2 separate regions of the Homo sapiens genome follow, and region 1 is linked to region 2. The links are contacts of gene promoters, found by promoter capture Hi-C in blood cells and fetal thymus (Javierre and others, 2016). All regions are on one chromosome and are shown on one strand. Each heading gives the region's core, a stretch centred on a gene start or on the middle of the fragment in contact. The rest is flanking DNA. Distances are from core to core; before and after follow the strand shown. Region 1 overlaps GFM2 (GTP dependent ribosome recycling factor mitochondrial 2). Region 2 holds the start of BTF3 (basic transcription factor 3).

Region 1 (5,576 bases), core at 234-2,733, 1.3 Mb before region 2:
AATAAGAGCAAGTTTAAAAAGATTAAAGCCACATGTGCCGCTTGGAAGAAATTGCAGTTCTCTACCAGGTACAAATGTTAGAGTCTTCTAATTTTATCTAAGCTGTTTGCTTTATCTCTTTTCTCTCTCTTGTTTGCAAGAATCTCCCTTATTAGGGCTCTGTAACCATTTTTTACTTCTTGGCTATTTCCTTGAGATTATTAGGGGCGGGAGTGTTCAGATAGGTGCCAGAAGGAAATACTAGTAGAGTTGTGCTCCTTATCTGAGGAACACGCTGATGAACTGAGCAAAGGAAAGGTTGGTGGCTTTAGTAGCTAGTTTGCAAGTTTAACATGTGAGTGTAATTGTAGAGTGCTCTTGTGAATTTCTTTTTCTAGTTTATTTCTGTTTTTTATGCAAGTGTTTTCTGTCAAGAGAGATTTACTAGAATAATTTATTTTGAGGATTGTTATAAGTAGTTTGGCTAAGTATTTGGGATTGTTTAGGTTAGATACATGGCATCAGAAGCTGGAAGGTGGAGGAGTTGACTTACTTTTGAATGTCCTTTCTGTGTTTGAAACAAGCAAGTGTATGGTAGACTCTATGAAACTAGTTTAATTCTGTTGCTGTTCTCATTACTGTGTTTGTCATGTGAGAATAATAGAATAAAAATACTGATTGGCTGTTGACTTACAAGGGCAGATTAATTTAATGGGCTACGTTATTGGTGTGTATCTAGGTCTCTGAATTTGGCTAATATGAATTTAACTGTAGTAGTATAGATTATCTTTTGATCTTCAAACCACCATGAAGTTTCAAAAATAATATAAAATTCTCCTTTTTGTATTATAGAAACATGGGAGAAATGGTTTAAATAACAGGAAGGCTTTAATTAAATTTACAAATGTAACTGCCTTGTTTCTTTAGAAATTACTTCTTAATATTAGTAAACTATATATTAAGCATAGAATAAGCCATATGGACTTTTTTATTTAAGAAATACTGCTTGGCCTTTCAAAAGTATTAAATTGTTATAGCTTCTATTCAGTGAAACCTCCCAGGCAGTCTTTAAAGGTATTGTGTCCTGGGATTGCTGAGGAAGGCAAGTTCCAAATTGTATAATAATTCATTATCAGCTGACATGAGGATCACTCTTAGCTCTTCAAACCCTGGAAAAGGCAGGTTTATAGGACTGTGCATTTAAAATTTTTTCTTTGATTCAGGATCATTGCCTTAAGATTATTATTATGAGCATTTATTCTAGTTCTACAATTTTGTAAATGGAAGTGAAGTAGGTGGCAGAGATTGGGGTGAATCTGTATTTTTCTGAGGATATGATCTAGAACTTGATGTTTAAAACTTTTACCTTGTTTTATTGTCATCCATAGCTTTCCTTATACATTGCAAGGAAATAAATTTTAGTTTATTTTAGATTTATTTAGCTTGAATTTTACTTTATTTGGACTTACAGTATTTGCTTAAAGTTATTTTAAAGTCTTTCATTTATAAATTAAAGGAAAATTTCATAAATGTAACAGTTCAATTTTAACTTTCTTTTCATTAGGCTTAATAGGAAATGATATCAAATCCCTTCATTCCATCATCAATCCTCCCATAGCTAAGTAAGTACTATCATTATATCATGCTTTTCCATAGACTGTCACGAAAATTTACAGGTTTTTTCTGATGGACAAGAGTGAATGCTGTAATTTCTATGACTTTCTGCCCTAGCCAATTTTAAGTAGATGTTGATAATGTATCTTAGCTATTTTTTCTCAATTAATGCTAAAAATTTTTAATGTAACAACAGCACACTTTTCTAGAATGAATATAAGATAGTCTCAAAATTGTAGGTTGTAGTTAGCCCTTTTGTTACTTAGCTATCTTATCAGAGTAATGTGGATATACTCTAAATGTTTTCCATTTTTCTAGTTTTTACACAGTTTTATAAATTATAGAAATACCAGCTTTGAAATTTGGATAGCATATATACTTTGGTTTTACAATTTTAGTAAAGTTTACCTTATTTTTTCCTTTTAAACAGAATCCGTAATATTGGAATTATGGCTCATATTGATGCAGGCAAAACTACCACCACAGAAAGAATATTGTACTATTCCGGATATACAAGATCACTGGGAGGTTAGAATGGATTCCTCCTCTTCCCACCCCCCCATTAGCAAAAGCATCATTGGAAAATATTTTGGTTAACAAGTCAACTTACACACCTTGAATATGGCATAGAGCTACTGATGTCTAATCCACAATTTAAAGATAAGATAGTTGCAATACCCACCAAAGGGTCTTCTTAGATTCAACTAAATATTCAGACTTGTAAGACTATCATAGGCCCCACTGGACACTCGTCTACTCAGAATGCTACAGGACAGGAACCACAGCTTACCAACAGACCAGCATTAGGTGTTTCTTTCTAGTAGAGTCCTTATAGCAGTCCCCGTAGCTATCTGGGAGCTATCTTCTTTGGCTGCTCCAGAGTAATGGATTAGATGCAAGGTGACAAGATTCATAGGAGCCACCCTAGCTTAGAAGATTCATGCCCCATAGGAATGAATGTCTCTTGTTATAACTTCATAGGCATAGCTTCCAGGTGTCACCTAAGGTACATGCCATACACAGGGAAGCCCAGAGTTCGGTATCTCCATAAGGTACTTATATATATAATTCATTTATAGTTCTTCGCAATTCAGATTTAGTTTACCAATCAGAAGTTGTTTTTTCCATAAGTTATATTGCCTAGGAATGTAGTTGACATACCTCTGTTATCTGGTTTCTAGAAGAAAAGAACCAAAAAAAGTAACCAGAAGTTAAATTCTCACATCAAAGAGGATTTTGTTAATCCTTAACCAAGTTATCTTTTGTCTTTTAAATTGTAGTTAAAAAAACATAAAATTTACCATCTTAACTATTTCTAAGTGTTAACTATTTTGGTAGTGTTAAGTATATTCACATTATTGTGCAACCAATCTTCAAAACATTTTCATCTTTCAAAATTGAAATTCTATACCCATTAAACAACTCCCATTTTCCCCTTTCCCCGGTCCCTTGCAACCATCCTTCTACTTTTTCTTCATGACTTTGACTACTCTAGGTACCTCATATAAATGGAATCGTAAGTATTTGTCTTTCTATGACTGGTTTATTTCACATAGTACAGTGTCCTCAAGGTTCATCCATGTTGTAGCATGTGTCAAGATTCCTTTTTAATTTTTTAATTTTTTTTTTTTTTTTTTTTTTTTTTAGAGACATAGGCTCTTGCTCTGTTGCCCAGGCTGGAGTGCAGTGGCCCAGTCACAGCTCACTGCAGCCTTGAACTCTTGGGCACAAGAGATCCTCCTGCCTCAGCTTCCTGAGTAGCTGGGACTACAGGCAGGTGCCACCACACTTGGCTAACTTTTGTATTTTTGGTAGAGACAGGGCCTCAGTGTGTTGCTCAGGCTGGTCTCAAACTGGGCTCAAGTGAAGATTCCTTTTATAAGGCTGAATAATATTCCATGTGTTTTTATTTATTTATTTCAAACTAATGCAGTTTATTATAACAAGAAGGAAATCAAGCTTTACAGTAATTATAGTCACTAAGCTGAAAAATCACCTACAAAAGTCATGGCAATAACTTATTTACAGTTAAAAAAGAGAATATCAAGATCTTGCTCTCATAGTAAGGTAAACTAGACATGTACACAATCTTATGATGCCAAGAAACTGAATATATAAAAATAGAACCCACATAGAATGTTCTCTCTCTCTTTTATATACACACACATTTGCTCTGTGATTGCCCTTAATTTTATGTCTTTATCATAACTGGTTTATTATATTTATAATTAAAGATAATCTTAGACTTTATATTCTAAAAAGCAACTAGGTTAACAGTTTTCTCCCCTAAGGCTTATTTTATTTTATTTTTTATTTCAATAGGCTTTTGGAGAACAGGTGGTTGGTTACATAAGTTCTTTAGGGGTGGTTTCTGAGATTTTGGTGCACCCATTACCCAAGTAGTGTACACTGTACCCAATGTGTAGTCTTTTATCCCTCACTCCCCTCCTGCCCTTTCTCCTGAGTCCCCAAAGTTCATTGTATCACTCTAATGCCTTTGCATCCTCATAGCTTAGATCCCACTTATGAGTGAGAACAAATGATGTCAGTTTTCCATTCCTGAGTTACTACACTTAGAATCCTGGCCTCCAATTCCATCCGAGAATAGTGGTCTCCAGTTCCATCCAGGTTGCTGCGAATGCCATTATTTCGTTCTTTTTTATGACTGAGTAGTATTCCATGGTGTGTATATGTGTGTGTATATATATATACACACACACTTTACACTGTTAGTGGGAATGTAAGCTAGTACAACCACTGTGCAAAACAATGTGGAGATTCCTTTAAAAACTAAAAGTAGAACTACCATTTGATCCAGCAATCCCACTATTTGGTATCTACCCAGAGGAAAAGAAATAATTATACGAAAAAGATACTTGACCACGCATGTTTATAACATCACAATTCGCAAAAATATGGAACCAGCCCAAATGCCAATCAATGAGTGGATAAAGAAAATGTGGTGTATATGTCCACTCCACATCCACTCCAACATCTGTTATTTTTTGATTGTGGCCATTCTTGCAGGAGTAAGGTGGTATTGCATTGTGCTTTTGATGTGCATTTTCAAAGAAAATGTGGTGTGCATGTATGTGTATATGTATGTATATACACATATATGTATAATGTTGGCTGTGGGTTTGTCATAGTTAGCTTTCATTACTTTAAGGTATGTCCCTTCTATGCCAATTTTGAGGAGGGTTTTAATCATAGAGGGATGCTGAATTTTGTCAAATGCTTTTTCTGAGTCTATTGAGATGATCATGTGATTTTTGTTTTTAATTCTGTTTATGTGATATATCACATTTATTGACTTGCAGATGTTAAACTATCCCTGCATTCCTGGTATGAAACCTACTTGATCATGGTGGATTATCTTTTTGGTATGCTGTTGGATTCAGTTAGCTAGTATTTTGTTGAGGATTTTTGCTTCTGTGTTCATTAGGGATATTGGTCTGTAGTTTTCCTTTTTTTGTTGTGTCTTTTCCTGCTTTTGGTATTACGGTGATACTGGCTTCATAGAATGATTTAGGGAGGATTCCCTCTATCTGTAGAATAGCATCAATAGAATTGGTGCCAATTCTTTGAATGTCTGATGGAATTCAGCTGCAAATCCATCTGGTCCTAGACTTTTTTTGTTGGCAACTTGTTAATTACCATTTCCTTCTCACTGTTATTTGTCTGTTCAGTTTCTGTTTCTTCCTGGTTTAATCTAGGAGGATTGCATATTTCCAGGAATTTATCCATCTCCTCTAGGTTTTCTAGTTTATGCGCGTAAAGGTGTTCATAGTAGCTTTGAGTGATCTTTTGTATTTCTGTGGTATCAGTTATAGTATCTCCTGTTTTGTTTCTAATTGAGCTTATTTGGATATTTTCTGTTCTTGGTTAATCTTACTAATGGTCTATCAATTTTATTTATCTTTTCAAAGAACCAGCTTTTTGTTTCACTTTTTAAATTTCCATCTTGATATCATTGTTGACCC
Region 2 (6,061 bases), core at 839-3,338:
AGATGTTAGGACACAAAATTTAATCTTGTTATCAGCTTTAAATATCCTAGCAAATCTCAAGATTTCCTTTACCCTAAAATGATGTCTCCCAAAGTTAAAGCCTAATGATGAGAGTAACAACAAAAAGACTGCACATAAGCACATTATTCAAATTACTCCTTCTGAAACTGTACTGAAAGTAAGAGTGGTTAAAAACACCAATATAAGAGCATCCAAACACTGAGACACAAAAAATTTGAGTTTTGCTGGCACTTGAAGGCCACAGTCTGATAACAATTGATTAAAGAGGACAAGAAACATCTAATGTTGTTAAATGTGTGGGTGTGGATCCTGAAGATGGCTAACGTTAACAAAAATAAAAAGTAAAAAAAAATCAGGATAAATTCACCGCTGGCAAAGTTCAGTAATTTAACAAAGCTGTATATTATTATTTAAGTCTAAGTGCAACTTCTGGCTATCTCACAGCTAACTCTAAGTTAAACGCTTAAAGTTGGGAAAAACTAAAAGGTAATAAACATGTACCATGGAAGCTTTACAAGTTTTACCAAGTAAAGACATGCTCTGTTTCAACAAGCTACCACACCTTGTTAAATACTAAGAATGTGCTAACAATACAAACTAGGTAGACCTCTGTCTACAGTGGACTTCTTATTAATTACAGGACAATCTAAAAATCAGCTTCAAAAAAGAATCCCCTTGATGTGAATCAGTATCCACCAGGAAAAAAACAATTAATCAAAAACTGATCATTTAAAAATCAGTCACTTTAATTCCCTCATTTTTACAGTAATACAAAGTCAGAACAGGAAAGATACCTACTTGGGTTATATTTTCAAATCTAATAGTCACTGCTCTTAAACTCCAAAATGTACCCGTATCTTCAAATACCCTTGAAATATGCAACTACCCTAAAGAATATTTAGTTCAGAAAGCAGTACAGAAAGGTCTCAATTTACAAGAGAGACAAACAAGCACTGACTTTAGAAAACTCAGGCCAAAACAAGTCAAGGGTATGATGTGCACAACGATCTAACTGAAATGACACATTTTCCTTACTAATTAAATTAGGAAACACTTTTGTGTTCTACTTACACTCTGTAACACTGAAAACACAAACATGTTTACACAAAGGCGATGTTTTTAGCTCGTCTCACTGATGTGTCTCCAACCCTCGTCTCCCCCGCTCCTCGAGATTTGCTAGCTCCGTGAATTTCCCTCGATAGGCAAAGTTTGTCACCGATAATATAAGAAGCGCAAAAGGAATATGTTTTTTAAAATACCTAAACCTTAAAAAAAAAACCCACAAACCCGAACTATTAAAACTTACTTTCCCACCAATGCGCACTTGTGCCTGCAGTTTGGCGAGTTTTTCCTGGTTCATGATTGTTTCTTTCATCTAGAAAAAGAGGAAATCCTCAGCAAGGATAGGTTTAGCTCACTCTAGCATTCCATGCTCGTTATTTCCCAAGATACCAGCAGGAAAATAAACGTCCTACACAGGCCGAAACCTGGATCCCAAATCCACCCCGCAAAGCTCCAAATTTGGGTTTCCAGGGAGCCCAAAGAGCACCCGCCTCCCCACCACTCCCCCACAGCTCCCCGCTCTTGGCAGGCCCGGATGAAAGGCTCTACCCCACGCCTGGCCAGCACCCCCCACCCCTGGCCCTGGCCTGGCCTCGGCCTAGCCAGGGCCTGCCCGGCCCGGCCACTCTCCGCAAGCCTCGCGGTACCTGAGGCTCCTGTCCTCGGGTTCCGCCGCGAGGTGGAGGTTGAGACAGCGTCGCCTCGCCCCCAGGGCAGCCGCCCCTGGCTCGACCTCGCCCCCGAGAGTCAGCCTGAGCGGGTGCGCCTGTCCGTCGCATCGCCTTCCTCTCCTCCTCTGCCCTGTCCCTCCCTGTCTCGCTCCTTCAGGGAACTTCCCGCCCCCGCTCCCGTCCTCCTACCACGCCGCCGTCCAGAGCCTTTTTGTACCTTGTCGGAGCGAATAAGGGGCCGCGCGGGGGACTAGGGTTGGTGCTCAAGGGGTCTCGGGTGGACCACCTGAGATTAGGCGCACACACGCGGGGACGCAAGATGGCAGCTAAAGGGAGGCCGGAAGTGACACAAGGCCACTTCCTTCAAGAGTCAGGAAACTGACTTCGCCGCGAACTCGGTTCCTCCCTGCGCACGCGCGACAGCGTTTGTGATGGTCCAGCGAGTCCCTATTCTCCTCCTCCTGCTCCAGCGGCTGCCGGCTGTAGGCCCTACGAGAGACTGCTGGCTTGGGGCGCAGCCCGTACCTCTGGGAGAGGCCACAAAGGGGTCGGAGAGCGCGGTCCTGTGCACAGTTAGGGTTAAGTCCGCTCAGTCTCCATTGGGCCCTGATCCTGAAGTTCTGTGCCCTCCGAAGAAAGGGCCTATTCACGTTTCCTGGAGACGCCGGAGGTGCCCAGCTTGTGCTCACCACTCAAGCAGCTCTCCCCTTGCTGGAGGTGTGGGTTGGAGAATTGCAGAATTTCCCTCTCGGCCCGAATGAGCCATTACCAAAGCATTTTGTCAAAAATAGTGAAGTTAGTTTGGCCTTCCAAGGTTAGGTGGTGTGGTAGATTGCGGGACCGAGGTTCAGAATTTCTGGGGGCTGTATCCCCGAGCCCCACTCCTCAGAATGCAACTCTGTACGACGAAGGAACTGGGTAATCCGCATTTCAGCCAATTTAGCAGATGACTAACCACCTTAAAACGGTCCACACAATTATCTTGTTTATCAGGCAAAAAAATTGACTCCTAGGTACCGAATTGGCATGGATTTGACAATTAGCGATTCACGGTTAAGCAGACTTTATCTATCTTAATCCAATCAAAGGAGAATTTCTGCCTGCTGTGTTTGGAGAGACAACGCGTGGATGTGAGTTAAACTTTGTTAAACCCAGGACAAGCTTTAAGATAAAACGACTGATATTTAAAATGGCAATTTAAATAAAAATGTTCTCTGATCAGCCTTTTTGTGGTCTTAACCATGAAATGTCTTTGCATATTCAAAAGTGAGTCCGAAATCTTAGAATGCAATGTGTGTAGCAAGAAAACTTGTTCAAGTGCAGACCCCTCTCCAGTTAAGATCAATGTTTAAACTTTTTGAATACTTTTTACATATAAGTTTGTTGCAACTGATGTCTCAAGAACATAACTGGTGAGGACAGCTGTATTGCCTTTTAGAATAATTGTTACAGTTATATTTACAAAAAACAATGTTGCTTCAGTTAAATATGAGTGAAGTTTTAGTACAGGTAAGGGTGTTTGTAGTTAGGCTTATGTGGGTTACCTTCCTAATGACAAAGGCCAAAATGGCAGTACCAACATTATGCTGTGCTCTGGAGATATTACAAAATATATAGAAAGACTCCCCCTTTTGGAAGAAATGTGTATCTTTGTCCAGGAACAGTTTTTTTCCTCTCCTCCATGTTATATTGGAGGCATTTGAAACTTCCTAGTCACGTGATGTTTTCTGAGCTTTTATAGAGACAAGATTGTATGTATGTAACCTGCCACCTTTTTTTTCTTTTTCTTTGCCTTCCCTCTCCTCTGCCCTTTTAATACACCTGTTTTCAGGAAATATTGTGAGCTACTTTTATTTATTTATTTATTTCTACTTTTTGAAACCAGGGATGCTGCTAATTTTATTTTTATAATTTTTTTAAAAAATATAAAACTTTAAAAAAATTAAAAGAGATGGGGTCTCACTTTGTTGCTTAGGCTGGGCTCAAACTCCTGCGCTCAAAGGATCCTTCAGTCTCAGCCACTTGAGAAGCTGAAACTACAGGTGTGCACCACTTTCCCTGGCTTATGACTTTTTAATTTTCCCCTCGTTCCTACTTTTTTCTCCTGTTCTTTCATGAATTTAAAAGTTTGCTGCGTGTTGAAAATATAAAAGATTACTTAATAGTAAAAAAGAAAATTTTGATTTTCTTTTTACGTTCTGTTTTGGTTTGGTTTTTGTGCTTTTCTATTTAGAGATGGAGGTCTTGCTATGTTGCCCAGGCTGGTCTCAAACTCCTGGGATCAAGCCATCCTCCCATCTGGGCCTCCCAAAGTGCTGGTAGTACAGGCATGAGCCACGATACCTGGCCAAAATTTTGATTTTTGACTCCAGCTGCTTCTGCTGGTTTTATGAGTAGTCAGGAAATTCTGATTCTTCTAATAAAATAATTATATACTAGACTTTTCAAAAATATGGGATTTTTTTGTTTCAAAAAAAGTTATTACATTGCAATCTTAGCTCAAGGATGCCAAAAGAGTAACTTGTGCTAATGTGGGAGCCATTTCCAGTATGCTCCCAATGTCTATGGCAAATGTGGGTAATTGGCTCCCACGCTTTCCTGCTGGGCTTCAAGGAGCCTAAGAATCATTTACTCAGCACTCAAGATTGTATCTGTCAATAGAGAAGGCAAGAAAGGTGAACCCTGTTTGCCCTCCTTGGTTTCTAGTTTATAGCCTAATCAAAGTCCATGAATTGTTTTCATCTCTCAGCTGGATTTGAGTCAGCTTCAGCAAAAGCCAAAATATCCACTTTATATAATGCTTATTTCTTTCTTTCTTTTTTCTTCTTTTTTTTTTTTTTTAGTCTCATCCTGTTGCCCAGGCTGGAGTGCAGAGCACTCGGCTCACTGCAACCTCCACCTCCCGGGTTCAAGCGATTCTCATGCCTCAGTGTCCTGAGTAGCTGGGATTACAGGTGCCCACCACCACACCCAGCTAATTTTTGTATTTTTTATTACATGTTTCACCATGTTGGCCAGGCTGGTCTCAAACTCCTGACCTCAAGCGATCTGCCTGGGATTGCAGGCATGAGCCACCATACCTGGCCAACTCAATATTCTTAATAGGTGGTAGGGCTATTTCCCTTTTTCACTTTTGAGACTGACAGATTTGCAGATATTCTATGTACATTTTAGGTTTTGTTTCATTTTGAAATTTTGATTAGGATTGGTTGTATAGATCGATTTGGGAAACTTATATATTTTCTAATTGTATGCCTCTGCATTCACTTGTAGGAAATCTGGCTATTTTTAATACACAGGGATTTAATATAGGGAATTGGTGCTTTACAAAGTTTGAAGGACTGGAGGAGTGGGCTTTAGCCTGGGCTGTCAGAAGTGAGTCCTAAGATAATACAGATTTAGTATCCCTAATCCAAAAATTTTAAATCCCAAATGCTCCAAAATCCCAAGCTTTTTGAACACAAGCATCATGCTCAAAGGAAATGCTCATTGAGCATTTCAGATGACAGATTTTCAGATTAGGGCTGCTCAACCAGTATGTACATAATGCAAATATTCCAAAAAAAAATCCCAAGTCTGAAAAATTTCTGGTTCCCAGCATTTCACATAACAGATACTCAACCTGCACTCCAGAACTGGGCTGTCATAGGACCTGCTGCAACTGTTTTCACCCATTAGGAGGATAGAGAATCAGGACCCTACAACTGGAATTATTGATGTTAAGAATGCACCACTGTAGCTACAATTCAGGAATCAAGAAGATAACTGTAGTAAGTACTACTCAATACCCACAAAGCTAATGACTGAGCTCTGGAAAGCTGCTGCAAAAAATATATCTCATGAGCATGCTTGCCAGCAAAAACAAAGCAGCAGGAAAAAGGCTTTAGCCTCACTTCCACTTTCTAAACCTTACTTAAATGTACTTAGTTGGCAAAAATAATTCACTTCTAGGATGGTAACTGCAAGGAAATCTGGGAAATATAGTTTTTAACTTTCCAAATTTATAGTACAAGGAGGCAAACTTGAAAGAAATTGGAATTGATCTGAGTACCAATCTACCTTACCTACCCAAAATTTCACCTCCATAAACATAGTGCATCTATTTTTTCAAATCTTTTATGTATTTTAGCAGTGTTTTAAAAACCTTCTGAAGGTCATGTGCATTCTTTAATAGATGGATTCCCGGATGTTATAGTTTTTATTCTTAATCTCTTTCCTATTTTAGTCATTGCAAATGTCTTCTCCTGGTGTGTTAAATCCATCATACTCTTGTTAAATAGAAACATAAATTTTTGACCCTGAGTTGA

The links. The method cuts DNA at HindIII sites, captures the fragments that hold promoters and counts their contacts. A CHiCAGO score of 5 or more calls a contact.
Region 1: a fragment that was not itself captured here is called in contact with the fragment with the promoter of BTF3 in region 2 in 1 of 17 cell types (activated CD4 T cells); the score reaches 5.2 in activated CD4 T cells.

The regions. Positions count from the first base shown.
Region 1 is chr5:74,755,394-74,760,969 of GRCh38, reverse strand. It overlaps GFM2 (GTP dependent ribosome recycling factor mitochondrial 2), which reads left to right. Exons shown (of 21, transcript NM_032380.5): 3 at 1-68; 4 at 1,544-1,601; 5 at 2,024-2,121. Among named protein-coding and RNA genes, the nearest start is that of GFM2, 8.9 kb to the left of the region's middle. The HindIII fragment of the contact is 4,143 bases long and covers 1-3,554 here.
Region 2 is chr5:73,494,469-73,500,529 of GRCh38, reverse strand. BTF3 (basic transcription factor 3) reads right to left here and starts at 2,088. Exons shown (of 6, transcript NM_001037637.2): 1 at 1,731-2,088; 2 at 1,328-1,396. The coding sequence starts at 1,862. BTF3-DT (BTF3 divergent transcript) reads left to right here and starts at 2,210. Exons shown (of 1, transcript NR_186388.1): 1 at 2,210-2,977. RefSeq lists a silencer at 1,604-1,653 and enhancers at 1,290-2,100, 1,864-2,163, 2,194-2,253. The HindIII fragment of the contact is 2,385 bases long and covers 533-2,917 here.